2 separate regions of the Homo sapiens genome follow, and region 2 is linked to region 1. Evidence: promoter capture Hi-C in human tissues and cell types (Jung and others, 2019). All regions are on one chromosome and are shown on one strand. The core of a region is centred on a gene start or on the middle of the fragment in contact, and the rest is flanking DNA. Distances in the headings are between cores, read along the strand shown.

Evidence for each region. The method cuts DNA at HindIII sites, captures the fragments that hold promoters and counts their contacts. A contact is called where the count stands out against the background at its distance.
Region 2: a fragment that was not itself captured here is called in contact with the fragment with the promoter of LRTM2 in region 1 in 1 of the 25 tissues and cell types used here (pancreas).

What each region holds. Positions count from the first base shown.
Region 1 is chr12:1,816,419-1,823,297 of GRCh38, reverse strand. It overlaps LRTM2 (leucine rich repeat transmembrane protein 2), which reads right to left and starts at 2,733. Exons shown (of 5, transcript NM_001039029.3): 1 at 2,484-2,733. All of the region lies in intron 26 of CACNA2D4 (calcium voltage-gated channel auxiliary subunit alpha2delta 4), which reads left to right. LOC105369601 (a long non-coding RNA gene) reads right to left here. Exons shown (of 5, transcript XR_931546.3): 5 at 4,492-6,064. RefSeq lists an enhancer at 2,417-3,163. The HindIII fragment of the contact is 8,239 bases long and covers 1-6,879 here.
Region 2 is chr12:1,863,495-1,870,373 of GRCh38, reverse strand. The region is part of intron 18 of CACNA2D4 (calcium voltage-gated channel auxiliary subunit alpha2delta 4); the gene reads left to right. It also overlaps the pseudogene LAMP1P1. Among named protein-coding and RNA genes, the nearest start is that of LRTM2, 46 kb to the right of the region's middle. The HindIII fragment of the contact is 4,711 bases long and covers 389-5,099 here.

The DNA of each region.
Region 1 (6,879 bases), core at 1,484-3,983:
GAAACCTCCAGCACACTCACCACAGACCTGGTGTCCGCACCCTTCCTCTCAGGCTTCTGCGCATGTCTATCCCTCCACATCAAGCATCCAAGACACACAGCCAGATAATGCCCATCGGGCCTCCACCTCTGAATTCCTGACTCCTGGGCCATCACACTAGCCCTAGGGTGTGCCCACTCCCCTGGCATCTCCCCTTGGTCAAGAGTCCATACCCCTCAGCATGGAAGAGTCACAGAACTCAGGGGTAAAGGGGGCATTTGCAGCCTACTCTGCCGCCCCCTTCACTCTGCAGAAGGCCAGAGAGAAGCAGAGCCACGACTGGGCCCACACCCTGGGCCTGCAGGGGCCGTGCCCTTCCACCAACCCCAGGAAGGCTGAGAGGGAGCCCGGAGAGTGGCCAGCCAGAGCCCCGGGCCAAAGACGGCCCGAGATTCCATGTGGCCAGGACGCAGGGGAGGCTGCCACAGCCGTCTAGGCTGGGCTCCGCCTACCGCTGCCTGTCTGGGCACCCAGGCCCTCTAGGACAGCTGCCCATCACCCCCATCACACACACTGCCCAGGCAGCAAGGAACCAGGTTTTAAAAATCTCTATATTTGTACTTGGAACAGCCATATACCCTCCTGGTTCATTTTAAAACACATGCCCCATCCTCACCCCCAGCCTCCTGCACCCCCGTTTCCTTGTCAAATATTCTCAATCTCAAACAGACCCTCTGGGAAGCAGAACAGAGAAGCCTCCTGAGTGGCCCCTCATGGGAGCTGGTCCCTGACATGAAGGAGGCTAAGGTGTCCACTGGGCCCTGGGGCCGGGCTCAGGGTGGTGTCCCTGGGGCTGGGCTCAGGGTGGTATTCCCAGGCAGGGCACAGGAGGCTTGGCTGGGGGAAAAAGGAGGAAGACCAGAGGGGCAGACAGCCTCTATGCTGGCTCCTTTCTCCTCTGCCCACCCCCAGAACTCCCAGACACCCCCAACCATCACATACATGCCATCCCCTCCTCCTTCCTACACTGCCCACTGAGGCCATAGCAGCCCAGAGGCGGCCCCTGGGCTCTGGTGCCTGGGAAACGGGAGCAGAGTTTGCTCCTCGTGGGCCCAGACAAGCTTCTGTCAAACCCCAAAGACACCAGATCGGCTGCTTAAGCAGCCTCTCTCCTTACCCCTCCCCGCGGGCCTGGCTTTCCTGGTCTCCCTCTTTTGGCAGTGCTGAGACTTTCTTTCTGCCGGTGGGGAGGTGGGGGTGGGAAAAGCTGGGCTCTTCTTGGCAGCTCGGAAGCTGCTGTCGGGTTTCCCTACCAGCTGGACTTCCCCCGCCTCAGCTCCACGTGCTCGGCTCCCTCCCCGCCCCCACCTGAGGCAGTTATCTAAGCTGCAGGGGTGTCATCTGAGTCACAAAGAGACACTGCCCAAGTAGCCCTGACAGCCGGGTGCCAACACCCCCCAGAAATGTGGACAGCTTGGGGGTGGGGGAGAGACAGGGCCGCCAACTGGAACCCAGCCCCAGACCTGCAGGGAGGTGCAGGAATGTGAACTTCCGACTCCTGGTCAGGCTGCTCCTCTCTCCAGCACTGTCCAAATGGGTCTGGGGGATTGAGAGCAACTGTCCCGCTCTACTCAGGGTGTCCATGCCCCCTGTGTGGGTCAAGAAGCCAGGCAGGCCTGGCCCCGCTGTGTACCCCCCACCCAAGCTCAGTGTCCAGCCCCCACTAAGGCTCCCTGACCCATTTGCAGATGGACGGCTGGGTGCACAGCTGCGGGACACCCCAGCAGGTTCTCGCGGGCCTGGTTCTCCTGTCTTGCCCTTGGGCTAGCAGGGAAGGGCTGCGATACTTCTCTCTCCTGCCCACTCCCAGCCTCACCCTCACCAGGGAGGCTTCATGCACAGCTGAGTGGGCCCATGCTCATCTGGGGGAGGGTTCCTCCACACCCTTGTCCAAGGACAGCCACCTGCAGGCAAGCTATAGGGAGGCCCAGGACCTGGGTCTGTGCCCATGCCTCTGACATCCAGGACCTCCTCCCTGCCACCCTCCACCCCAAGCCTTCCTCTGACCTGGCCCTGTCCCCAGCACCTGACTGCCATCCCAACCGCTTCCCATGACCCCCGAGTTTCTTGGGGCTGTCTGTGCAGAGCCGGGCACAACGACAGCACAAGGCTCTTGGCTGCTTCTCCCATGCTGCAGGGACCGGTTTCTATGCCACCCGGGACTGTCATCTGGCGCCAGCGCTGCCCTCCTCCCCACTTCCCAGCAGAATCCACAGCTCTTGTCCCCAGCACTGTGGGCTCAGAGTTCCCAGTGTCGTGCACCTTTGGGATGCTCAGGTGCCTGAGCCCGAGCAGCTTCTTCGGCCCCAGCAATTGCCTGCAGGTAGGAAGCAACTGCAGCTATTCCTGCAGGGCAGAGATGGCCGGTGCCCACTTCCCATGCCCCGACCACCCCCTGTCCCCACCAACCCTCCATTCCTTCCTACCAGCCACTCGGTACTCACCCGTCTTTACTCTGACTGCAAACGCCTTCAATCAGGTGGCTCTCAACCCTCCAGTAAGACCCTCCTGGGATTCCTATAGAAATCCAGACACCACCGGCAGGCAGAGCGCAGTGGGCACTGGTGCCAGAGTCTCCACTCAGCGGGAGCAGCGGCTGGCACGCAGCACACAGCACCAGGAGGTGGACTGCTTGTGGCAGACGGGGGACGGGGCTGCTGGGTCAGTCACAAACTGAGAAGGAAAGAGAGGGATGGAGGGAGAGAGAGAGAGGAGAGAGGGAAGAAAGGGGCGAGGGAGGAGAGCGCACGCGTGTGCGCGAGCAGCGAGCCAGAGTGGAGCGGGGAGTGACAGCTGGGGTGCATCTGTGATGACAGCGGCAGCAGCACACACAGGCGCACACCAGAGGCACCACGGCCGGCCGCGAGGGCAGCGCTCACCCTGGCCACGCTCACATTTCAGTGGAAAAAGGCGCCTGTGGATGAATCGCTGCCGACCACAGGGAGGAGGAAAGCGGTTTCACCACCACCTCCATCTTCCATCCTGCGCCTCCAGGCTCTCCCTCACCCCCCCGGCTGCACCTGTCTTCTGTGCCTCTCTCCTCTCTTCCCCTCCATCTGGGGAAAGAGGGACAGGCGCAGACACAGAGCAAGCGGCTGACTTCTGTTCCGATGGAGGCCCCCCTGGGAAGCTGGTCTTTCTCCTGTTTTAGAGACATGCGAGGCAGAGTCTCCCATCCTGCCTGAGAGAAGGAAAAACCGAACCCTTCTCTCGGTCATACGAAAGAAGGGTACACAGGCATGTCCATGTGCCAGATGACCCTACAGGAAAGGGCCCTGAGCCCCCACAAAGCCAGGGATCACATGGTCATGCAGAGGTCACTGAGCCTCAGGGTCTGACCACCCGACGCCAGGACTACTTAGGGAAGCAGAATGCCAGAGTTGGCAGGCTGGGAGTTTGGGCACAGGGCAGCCTGCAGCAGCAGCCTGCAGACCGTTCTCAGTGCCAGGGACGAGCTTGGCTTCTCAGGGCTCCTTGCTCTTATCTGTGATGGGTCAGGCATGCGAAGGGAAGAGACTGTCATTCAAGAACTTGGAGGCCTCTTTCTTAACCAATCAGGACAAAGCAAGTCAGAAAAATTGATATCCTAAGAGATGGGAAGTGGCTGATCTGAAGGCCAAGTGAGTCAGGGACCAAGCTAGAGGGGAGCCAGGGCCCCACCAGCCTGGAGCACGAACCCTAAATCCCCCTTCCTTTGCGTCCACTGCCTGTAGACAGATGAAGCACCGTGCTAGCGATATATCACCGTGTCCTATGTCCCTCTTCCATTTTGCCTGCTTTGCTGGAGGGGTTCACAGCCAGGACTGGGGTGGGTGTAGAAGAACCCCCTGGACTCAGGATGCCCCTAGAAGGATGCTCCTGCTCACTCCCTTCTGTCCGTTCTGCCGGGTCCCCGGGCAGCACAAGGCTTGAGCTGCAGTGTCTTTTACCTCTGGGGAGTCCCGCCTCTGACCTCTCATGCTGGTGCCTCCCACACATCCCACTGTCAAGCAAAAGAGGCTCCCACCTCCCCATAAACATACTTCCTGCTTCTCCATCTCCATGAAAGCGTGTTCTTCCCTGGGCCTGAAATGCTCTCCTGCCCATGGGTGGCTTCCCCCTTCCTTAAACGCCCCCTGCAAGGTGACGTTTCCCCGGAACACCACAGGACTGGCCCTGCTCCTCCTCCGATCTCTGGCATTCTCTTTGGGCCACCCTCATGTTGTGCAGGAGCTTTCTGTGGTCTGCTTCATCTCCTTTCCTTTTTTTTTTTTTTTTAATTTTTTTAGTATTTATTGATCATTCTTGGGTGTTTCTCGGAGAGGGGGATTTGGCAGGGTCATAGGACAATAGTGGAGGGAAGGTCAGCAGATAAACATGTGAACAAAGGTCTCTGGTTTTCCTAGGCAGAGGGCCCTGCCGCCTTCCGCAGTGTTTGTGTCCCTGGGTACTTGAGATTAGGGAGTGGTGATGACTCTTTTTTTTTTTTTTTAATTTATTTATTTATTTTTTATTGATCATTCTTGGGTGTTTCTCGCAGAGGGGGATTTGGCAGGGTCATAGGACAATAGTGGAGGGAAGGTCAGCAGATAAACAAGTGAACAAAGGTCTCTGGTTTTCCTAGGCAGAGGACCCTGCGGCCTTCCGCAGTGTTTGTGTCCCTGGGTACTTGAGATTAGGGAGTGGTGATGACTTTTAACGAGCATGCTGCCTTCAAGCATCTGTTTAACAAAGCACATCTTGCACCGCCCTTAATCCATTTAACCCTGAGTGGACACAGCACATGTTTCAGTGAGCACAGGGTTGGGAGTAAGGTCACAGATCAACAGGATCCCAAGACAGAGGAATTTTTCTTAGTGCAGAACAAAATGAAAAGTCTCCCATGTCTACTTCTTTCTACACAGACACGGCAACCATCCGATTTCTCAATCTTTTCCCCACCTTTCCCGCCTTTCTATTCCACAAAGCCACCATTGTCATCCTGGCCCGTTCTCAATGAGCTGTTGGGCACACCTCCCAGACTGGGTGGTGGCCGGGCAGAGGGGCTCCTCACTTCCCAGTAGGGGCGGCCGGGCGGAGACGCTCCTCACTTCTCAGACGGGGCGGCTGCCGGGCGGAGGGGCTCCTCACTTCCCAGACGGGGTCGCGGCCGGGAAGAGACGCTCCTCACATCCCAGACGGGGCGGTGGGGCAGAGGCGCTCCCCACATCTCAGACGATGGGCGGCCGGGCAGAGACGCTCCTCACTTCCTAGATGGGATGGCGGCCGGGCAGAGGCGCTCCTCACTTCCCAGACTGGGCAGCCAGACAGAGAGGCTCCTCACATCCCAGACGATGGGCGGCCAGGCGGAGACGCTCCTCACTTCCCAGACGGGGTGGTGGCCGGGCAGAGGCTGCAATCTCGGCACTTTGGGAGGCCAAGGCAGGCGGCTGGGAGGTGGAGGTTGTAGCGAGCCGAGATCACGCCACTGCACTCCAGCCTGGGCACCATTGAGCACTGAGTGAACCAGACTCCGTCTGCAATCCCGGCACCTCGGGAGGCCGAGGCTGGCGGATCACTCGCGGTTAGGAGCTGGAGACCAGCCCGGCCAACACAGCGAAACCCCGTCTCCACCAAAAAAATATGAAAACCAGTCAGGCGTGGCGGCGCACGCCTGCAATCGCAGGCACTTGGCAGGCTGAGGCAGGAGAATCAGGCAGGGAGGTTGCAGTGAGCCGAGATGGCAGCAGTACAGTCCAGCTTCGGCTCGGCATCAGAGGGAGACCGGGGAAAGAGAGGGAGAGGGAGACCGTGGGGAGAGGGGAGAGGGGAGAGGGAGTCATCTCCTTTCCTACACAGAGCTGTTCAAGCAGGGGGACTGGCCTCACCTGTTCCGTGTCCTTCAGGCCCCAGTGCCTTCGTGTCAACTGAGTGAGGAATGGAGGACATGAAAGAGCTCAAGACTGGGCATCAGGGGACCCAGACTCCAGACTCTGTTGCTCAGTGACTAGCTAGCTAGTGAGTTCACTCAGCAGCCCTGGGCCTTGTGCTGGCTGGGATTCCTGCCCTGCAGAATGAGGAGATGGGTTGAGATCTCTGGTCTCCCTTCTGGCACTGGCCTTCTGTGACCTAAGTATTCGCTGTGCACCTGTCGGGTCCTCAGCTTGTGTTACAAAAGATGATCCCTCTCATGCCCCACAGTCCCTATCCCGTGCAACACGCAGTCTCCTGGTTAGGTTCTCAAGACAGAGGAGGAGGAAAGAGAAGCAGATAAAGGGCTAGGAGGGCAAAGCTGGAGCTTCTGACTCCTGGGACCACAGCACTCAACAGTGTGCAAACTCATATGTTCATGTGCATGCTATGTATGTGCATGTGTGTGTACGTATGTGTGCATGTGCATGGTGCACGTGTATATGCATGTGTGTGCAAGTGTGTGCGTATGCCTGTGTGTCCATGTGTGCGTGCATGGGTATGTGTGTGCAAGTGTGTGTGCATGCATGTGTGTCCGTGTGTGCATATATGTGTGTGTCCATGTGTGTGCATGTATGTGTGTGTGCATGCACAGTTGTTTGGTTTTGCCTTCTGTGATGACACAGCAGCACCGAGGTGACAGTCTGTGTGCACAGCAAAGACGTACATCTTGATAAGCCGCCTGCGGGTCTGGCCTTATTGAGGCTCTTTGTTAGGTTGTCTGCCAGCGGAGCTGAGCTGCGATCTTACAGGAAAGCTGCTTGGGAGGAAGGCACGAGATCAATGTGGAGAGGCAGGGCAGAGAGGGAAGGCAAGGGACAGCCCAGAGAGGGAGGACAGGAGGGAGGGAAGGGACCCAGGTCAGCTGGGGCAGGAGGCCCGCTGGGGCAGGAAGGGGTCTGAGATTTGTCC
Region 2 (6,879 bases), core at 1,495-3,994, 47 kb before region 1:
CACAGGGAGGCTAGACCCCAAATCTGTTTACAAACTCCTCTGAAATTCCTGGCTGACTCCTGAGCCCTGCAGACACAGGGAAGCCTCGAGGTGCCCCAGTGGAATGCAACACGGAAAGCCGAAAGCAGGATTCCAGAGCAGGATCTCAACACGGGATCTCAGCTTTTGCACGTGTAGTAGGGACAGTTTGGAGTGTGAGTCACACAGAGGTGGAGGGGCTTGGTAAACACCTCAGGATTTCCTTTGAAAGCACAGAAGAACTACACCTTAGGAGTAAAGACTGTCCCACGACCAAGAGATTCGCCCTAGGCCTAAAGACAAAGCTGAGACAGACCCACCCAAACAAAATGTGAATTCAAGCCTCTATATGCTCAGTTCTTATCAACCCATCATTTAACTACTGCTTAATACAAAAACACCTTCAAAGGAAGACAAGAGTATCTACAGCCTACCCCTCAAATATCCAGTATATAATAAAAAGTGTTATGACCCAGCTGTTAGAATTAGAATGACTTTAGTGCAGACATTGTAACTGTGTAAAGGAAAAGATGTTCATAATGAGGGAACAGATGGAGAATCTCAGCGGAGAAATGGTTAGGGCTTGGTCAAAGAACAGAGCCCCTGGGAGTGATAGAATGTAGGATTTTATCGTAGGGATTAGACCTTATGAAACTGTGGGAGCTGTTTATGAAATCTATGGAAAGCTGGTGTCTGCATCCAATGGTGAGCTTGAAGTCATTGTAGGTCAGCATGACCAGCAGTTGGGAAGGAAAGCTGGATGAGATGTGGAAGAAAGCAAGAACGAACTGGAACTCAAGAGGAAAAACAGGAATCCGTGAAAACAAACTGAAACCCACATCTGTCACTCACCAACTCTACCCATCAGGATGGCAGATGACCCGCAGACGGAGCCAGTGCCTTCCATGAGGAGCTGCATCCTCACCAGGTTAGGTCTCAGGGAAACTGAAGGAGGAGAGCCAGCAGCAGCGGGTGGCTTTGAATCTGGCTTCGGCCCATGCCTAGAAAGCACGACGGTAGGTTACAGCAAAGAGTGGCAGAGCCTGGTATTCTGTGCGGACTTCAGTGTGCAAAACGGCTACTGCTGCACTTCTGTCTGCAAATCTCACACACACTTCTCTTTGGCTGACCCTGACTCGAAACCACACTGGGCATTGAGTCTGGAAGTGTAGTTCCAGCTTAGCTAATTTGACACAGTACAAAATCATTATAAGAACCAAACAGGAATTTTTTTCTTGCTTTAGACCTGCTTTTCGATTGTATATATTTAAGGTGCACAACGTGATGCGCAGTCATCCCTCAGCATCCATGGGGATTGGACCAGGACACCCCAAAGATACCAAAATCCATGGATGCCCCAGTCCCTTCTATTAAATGGTGTAGATTTATGTGTAATCTACACAGTCTTCCCTAATACGTTAAATCATCTCCAGATTACTTATAAAACCTAATACAGTGTAATTGCTATATAAATAGCTACACTGTATTGTTTAAGGGATAATGACAGAAAAAGTCTGTACATATTCAGTACAGATGCAACTATCCTTTTTTCTGGAATACTTTTTGATCCACAGTTGATCGAATCCAGGGATGTGGAACCTGTGGATATGGGAGGACCAACTGTACTTATCTTGATATACAAAGTGAAGTGAAGGGATGACTACAGTCAAGCAAATTAGCATACCCATCATCTCATATAGTTACCTTTGCTTTAGCCTGTGTGTGGTAAGGACACCTAAACTCTGTGCTCTTGGCCAGTTTCCAGTGTACAATACAATACAATACAATGAACTCTAGTCCTCATGTTGTACATTAGAGCTCTAGCCTTAGTCATCCTAGATAATCACAACATGGTACCTTTTGACCAACGTTTTCTCATTCCCCACCTCCCACCGTGCCTTCCCCTGCTGCTAGTAACCACCATTTTTCTCTGTTTCTATGTATTCCATTTTTATTTTAGATTCCACATATAAGTGAGATCACGCAGCATTTTTTTCTGTGTCTGGCTAATTTCACGTAGCATAATGTCCTCTAGGTTCATCCATGTTGTAGCAAATGGCAGAATCTCCTTCTTTGTTAAGGCTGAATAATATTCCTCTGTATTTATAAGCACTACAATTTCTTTATGCATCCATCAACAGATACTTCAGTTGTTTCAATATCTTGGCTATCAATGGTGCAATGAACATGGAAGTGCAGGTATCTTTATGAGGTGGTGATGTCCTTTCCCTTGGGTATATACATGGAAGTGGGACTCCTGGGTCACATGGCAGTTCTACTTTTCATTTCTTTAGGCTCCTCCATATTGTTTTCCACAGTGGTTGCACCAACCTACATTCCCACCAACAGTGTACAAAGGTTCCCCTTTCTTCACACCCTTGTCTACACTTATTTCTTGTCTTTTTGGTAGAAGCTATCCTAAGAGGTATGAGGTGGCATCTCATTGTGGTTTGGGTTTGCATTTCTCTGATGATCAATGATGTTGAGCAGCTTTTCAAATATCTGTTGGCCATTTTATGTCTTCTTTTGAGAAAGGTCTATTCAGGTCCATATTTAAATCAGATTATTTGGATGTGTGGGGTGGTGGTGTTGTTTTTTGGTTTTTTTGCTGTTGAGTTGTGTGGGTTCCTTATATATTTCGGATATTATAAAATATTTGCAAACCATATATTTTATAAGATTTTTATGTCCCTTATAAAATGTGCAAATATTTTCTCCCAATCCATAGGTTGCCATTTCATTTTATTGATTGTTTGCTATGCAGAAGGTATTAGTCACTTTTTATTTTAGCTGTTGTTTCTTATGCTTCCAAATGAAAATTTTAAAACCAAAAAGTACCGTATCTGAAACGAAAGCTTTACTGGATAGGCTTCCCAGCAGGTTGTAGAATAAAGGGACAGTGAACTTAAAGATGGATCAGTAGAAATTATCCAATTTAAAAACCAGGGGGAAAATGGGGAAAAAGACAGAGAAAGAAACAGAACTTCAGCAACCTGTGAGATGGTATCAAGTGGTCTAATTACATGTTCTTGGAGCCCTAGAAGGTAAGGAGAAAAACTCAAGCAGAAAAAAAGCATATTTGAAAAACTAATTGTCAAAAATGTCCTGAATTTGACATAAAACAGCAATCTACAGATCCAAGAATCTCAGCAAACCCCAAGCAGGATAAAAAGACAAAGAGAACCACATCTGGGTACTTCATAGTCCAGCTACTAAAATCCAAAGGTAAGAGAAAATCTTCAAAAAAGCTAAAGGAAAAAAGATGCATTACATAAAGGGAAACAATAAGACTGCTGTATATAAGAACCAACAAAATAACATCGTTAAAGTGCCAAGAGAAGAAAAAACTGTCTACTCAAATTTCTGTAGAAAGAGAAAATACACTTCAAAAATAAGGATAATGTCTTCGGTAAGGACATTTTCAGGCCGGGGCAGTAGCTCACACCTGTAATCCCAGCGTTTTGGGAGGCCAAGGAAGGAGGATCACTTGAGCCCAGGAGTTCGTGACCAGCCTGGACAACATAGGGAGACCCCATCTCTACAAAAAAATACAAAAAAAAAAAAAAAATTAGCCAGGTGTGGTGGCATGCACTTGTAGTCCCACCTACTCAGGAGATTGAGGCGGGAGAATCACTTGAGCCCAGGAGGTTGAGGCTGCAATGAGCTGTGATCATGCCACTGCACTCCAGCTTGGGCAACAGAGTGAGACTATGTCTCCAAAACAAACAACAAAAAAAGACATTTTCAGATAGAAGGAAACAGAGGTTTCATTATTATCAAGACCAGCAGCAAAAATGCTTCAGAAAATTCTTTAGGCTGAAATAAAGTGACATCAACTGCAGGTCTACAGGACAGAATCAACCATACTGGAAATGATAAATAATGTGGGTTAATAAAAGACTATATTTTATTTATTCTCTTAATTTCTCAAAAAGACAACTGACTATTTAAAGCAAAAGTTTCGATGTTGCATTGTGGGGTTTGTAATATATGTAAGTGTAAATTATATGGCAACAATAGCACATAGCAGAGTTATCTCAAAAATTTAAAGTTAATTTAACATTGAAAAAATTAATCAGTCAGTGCAATTTATTACATTAACAGAATAAAAAAGAAAAGATAGAGGGTAATCTCAATAGATGCTAAAAGAGCATTTGACAAAATTTAAGAACAGAAAGAAACTTCTTCCCTCTGATGAAAGGCACCTATGAAAAACCTGGAGCTAACTTTTGATGGTAAAATATTGAACACTCTCACCCTAAAATTGAGAACAAGGCAAGGAGGACTTCTCACCACTTCTATTCAGCCTTGCACTGTAGGTCCCAGCCCCTGCAGTAAGGCAAGAAAACAAAATAAAAGGCACAAAGACAAGGAAGGAAGAAGTAAAACTGCCTTCATTCAGGGACAAAATTATTGTTTCCATAGAACATCCCAAGAATCTACAAAACAAACACTAGAACTAATAGGTAAGTTTAGCAAGTTCAGAGAACACGATTTTATAAAAATTAATGTTATTTGCATATATAGCAGCAAACAGAAAATGGAATATTTTTGGTCCAGGAACGCCACCGTCCTTCAGGCCAGCGCCCCGCAACCGCCTCCCCGCGCCCCGGTTCCCCACACACCGGCTCCCCTCGCGCCTGCCGCCCGGGCTGCATCTGGTGGAGCCCCCGGCTGCCCCTGGTGCTGCTGCTGCTGCTGGGCCTCGTGCGTGGTGCAGCCGCAGCGGATGCGGTGAAAAAGGGCAACGGGACAGCCTGCGTAATGGCCAGCTTCGCTGCCTTCTCGATGAACTACGACTCTAAGAGTGGCTCTAAGAATGTGACCTTTGACCTGCCATCCAATGCGGAAGTGCTTGACAGTGGCTCTTGCAGTAAAGAGAACACTTCCGACCCCAGGCACGCGATTGTGCTTTGGAGGAAGACAGACACTGACCTTCCATTTCACAAGAAGTGCGACACGTGACAGCGTCCAGCTCATGAGTTTTGTTTACAACTTGTCAGACACACACATTTTCCTCAGTGCAAGCTCCAAGGAAATCAGGACTGTGGAATCTCTACCAGATATCAAGGCCCCCAGGTCCGCACGAACAGCGAGACCATCAGGCTCCGCGGTGCCCCGATCCAGGCCTAGATTTCCAACAGCAGCTTCAGCAAGGGAGAGACGCGCCACGAGCAAGACGCGCCTTCCCCGCCACGGCGCCGAGAGCCCCTTCTCCCCTCCGTGGCCAGGTACAGCGTGAGCGGCACCCACGGGGCCTGCCTGCCGGCCAGCGCGGGACTGCAGCTGAACCTCACCCAGAGAGGAGGGACCACGCGACGGTGACCTGGGCATGACCTCAGCCAGCGGGAGCGCGGCGCCCACCTGGAGACCCGGGAGCGGCGCGGCGAGGGCACCACGGTCCTGGGCTTCCGGTTGGGGATGAATGCAGGTTCTAGCCGGATTTTCCTACGAGGAATCCAGCTGAATACGACTCTTCCTGACCCCAGAGACCCCACTTTTAAAGCTGCCAACGACTCCCTGCGAGCATTGCGGGCAGCCATCGGCAATTCTACAGCCGGAGCGGAGCGTGTCCGCGGCACGAAGGCGTTTTCAATCAACATATTCCCAGTGTGGGGCCAGGCTTTCAAGGTGGAAGGCAACCAGTTCGGATCTGCGGAGGAGCGTCTGCTGGGCGAGAACAACACGCCGATCCCCATCGCCGTCGGCGGCGCCCTGGTGGGACTGGGCCTCCTCGTTCTCATCGCCCACCTTGTCGGCAGGAAGAGGAGTCACCCGCACGGCAGCAGGCACAGAGCTGCTGGGGTCTCTGTTCATCCCCCTGGGCTTAGGGTCCTGAGACAGAGGCACACTTTCTGGCAAACATTTCTCAAATGTGCTTCATCAAATGGGATGTTCATCTTGCAGCATTTGCCATACACGGCAGAGTAACTATGGAAATGACGGTGTTAATTTTGCTAACTGGGTTAAATATTTTGCCAACTGGTTAAACATTCGTATTTACCAAAATAGAACTCTAAGGGACGGTGGTAGTGCTTCTCAACATTGGCACTGGCTCCATTGTCATTCGACTTTAAAATGTCCGGGGTTGGTTTCCTCATTCTTTGCTGCACTCAGATTTAAGCCTTACAAAGGGAGAGTCTCCGGCCTTCACGCTTAGGAGCCTGAAGGTCGGCTCACCGTTAGGCTGACATGCTCATGAAATTACAAACAGTAGAGAGGGAAAATCCTAAGACAGAAGAACTCCAAAGATAAACGGGCCTGGCCGCCTTTTAAAGATGAGCGGAAGCACTCCAGACATTTGTCTTTGGACGGGATGGGCCCGGCCACTCACGGCTGGCGGCCACGTTCCAGCGAAGGCACCTGGTGGCATGTCCTCCCGCATTTCCGAAACTCTGCTGCTCAAGGGCTGGCACTTTTTAAAATATGAAAATGGGTGTTATTATTTTTTTTTTTTTGTAAAGTGATTTTCAGTCTTCTGTTGACATTCAGGGTGATCCTGTTTCTGCGCTGTGTACAATATTAGATAGATATTATCTACTGATGTGTCTGCTGTGGCTTGGGATGGTTGTACACAGGACCAGCTCACATAATGCATTGCCTGTAACAATGCTAACGAAAAGTGTCTTTCTCCAAAAAGAAAGAAAATGAAATATTTTAAAGTTCCAATGACAATAGCATCAAATAACATAAAATACTTAGGAATAAATTTAACAAACGTATATATGACCTCTACACTGAAAACTACAAAACATTGCGGAAAGAATATCAAAGAAAAAAGTAAATATAGAAAGATATAACTCTGTTTATGGGTTAAGATCAGTATTGTTAACACATTCATTCTCCCCAAATTGATTTATA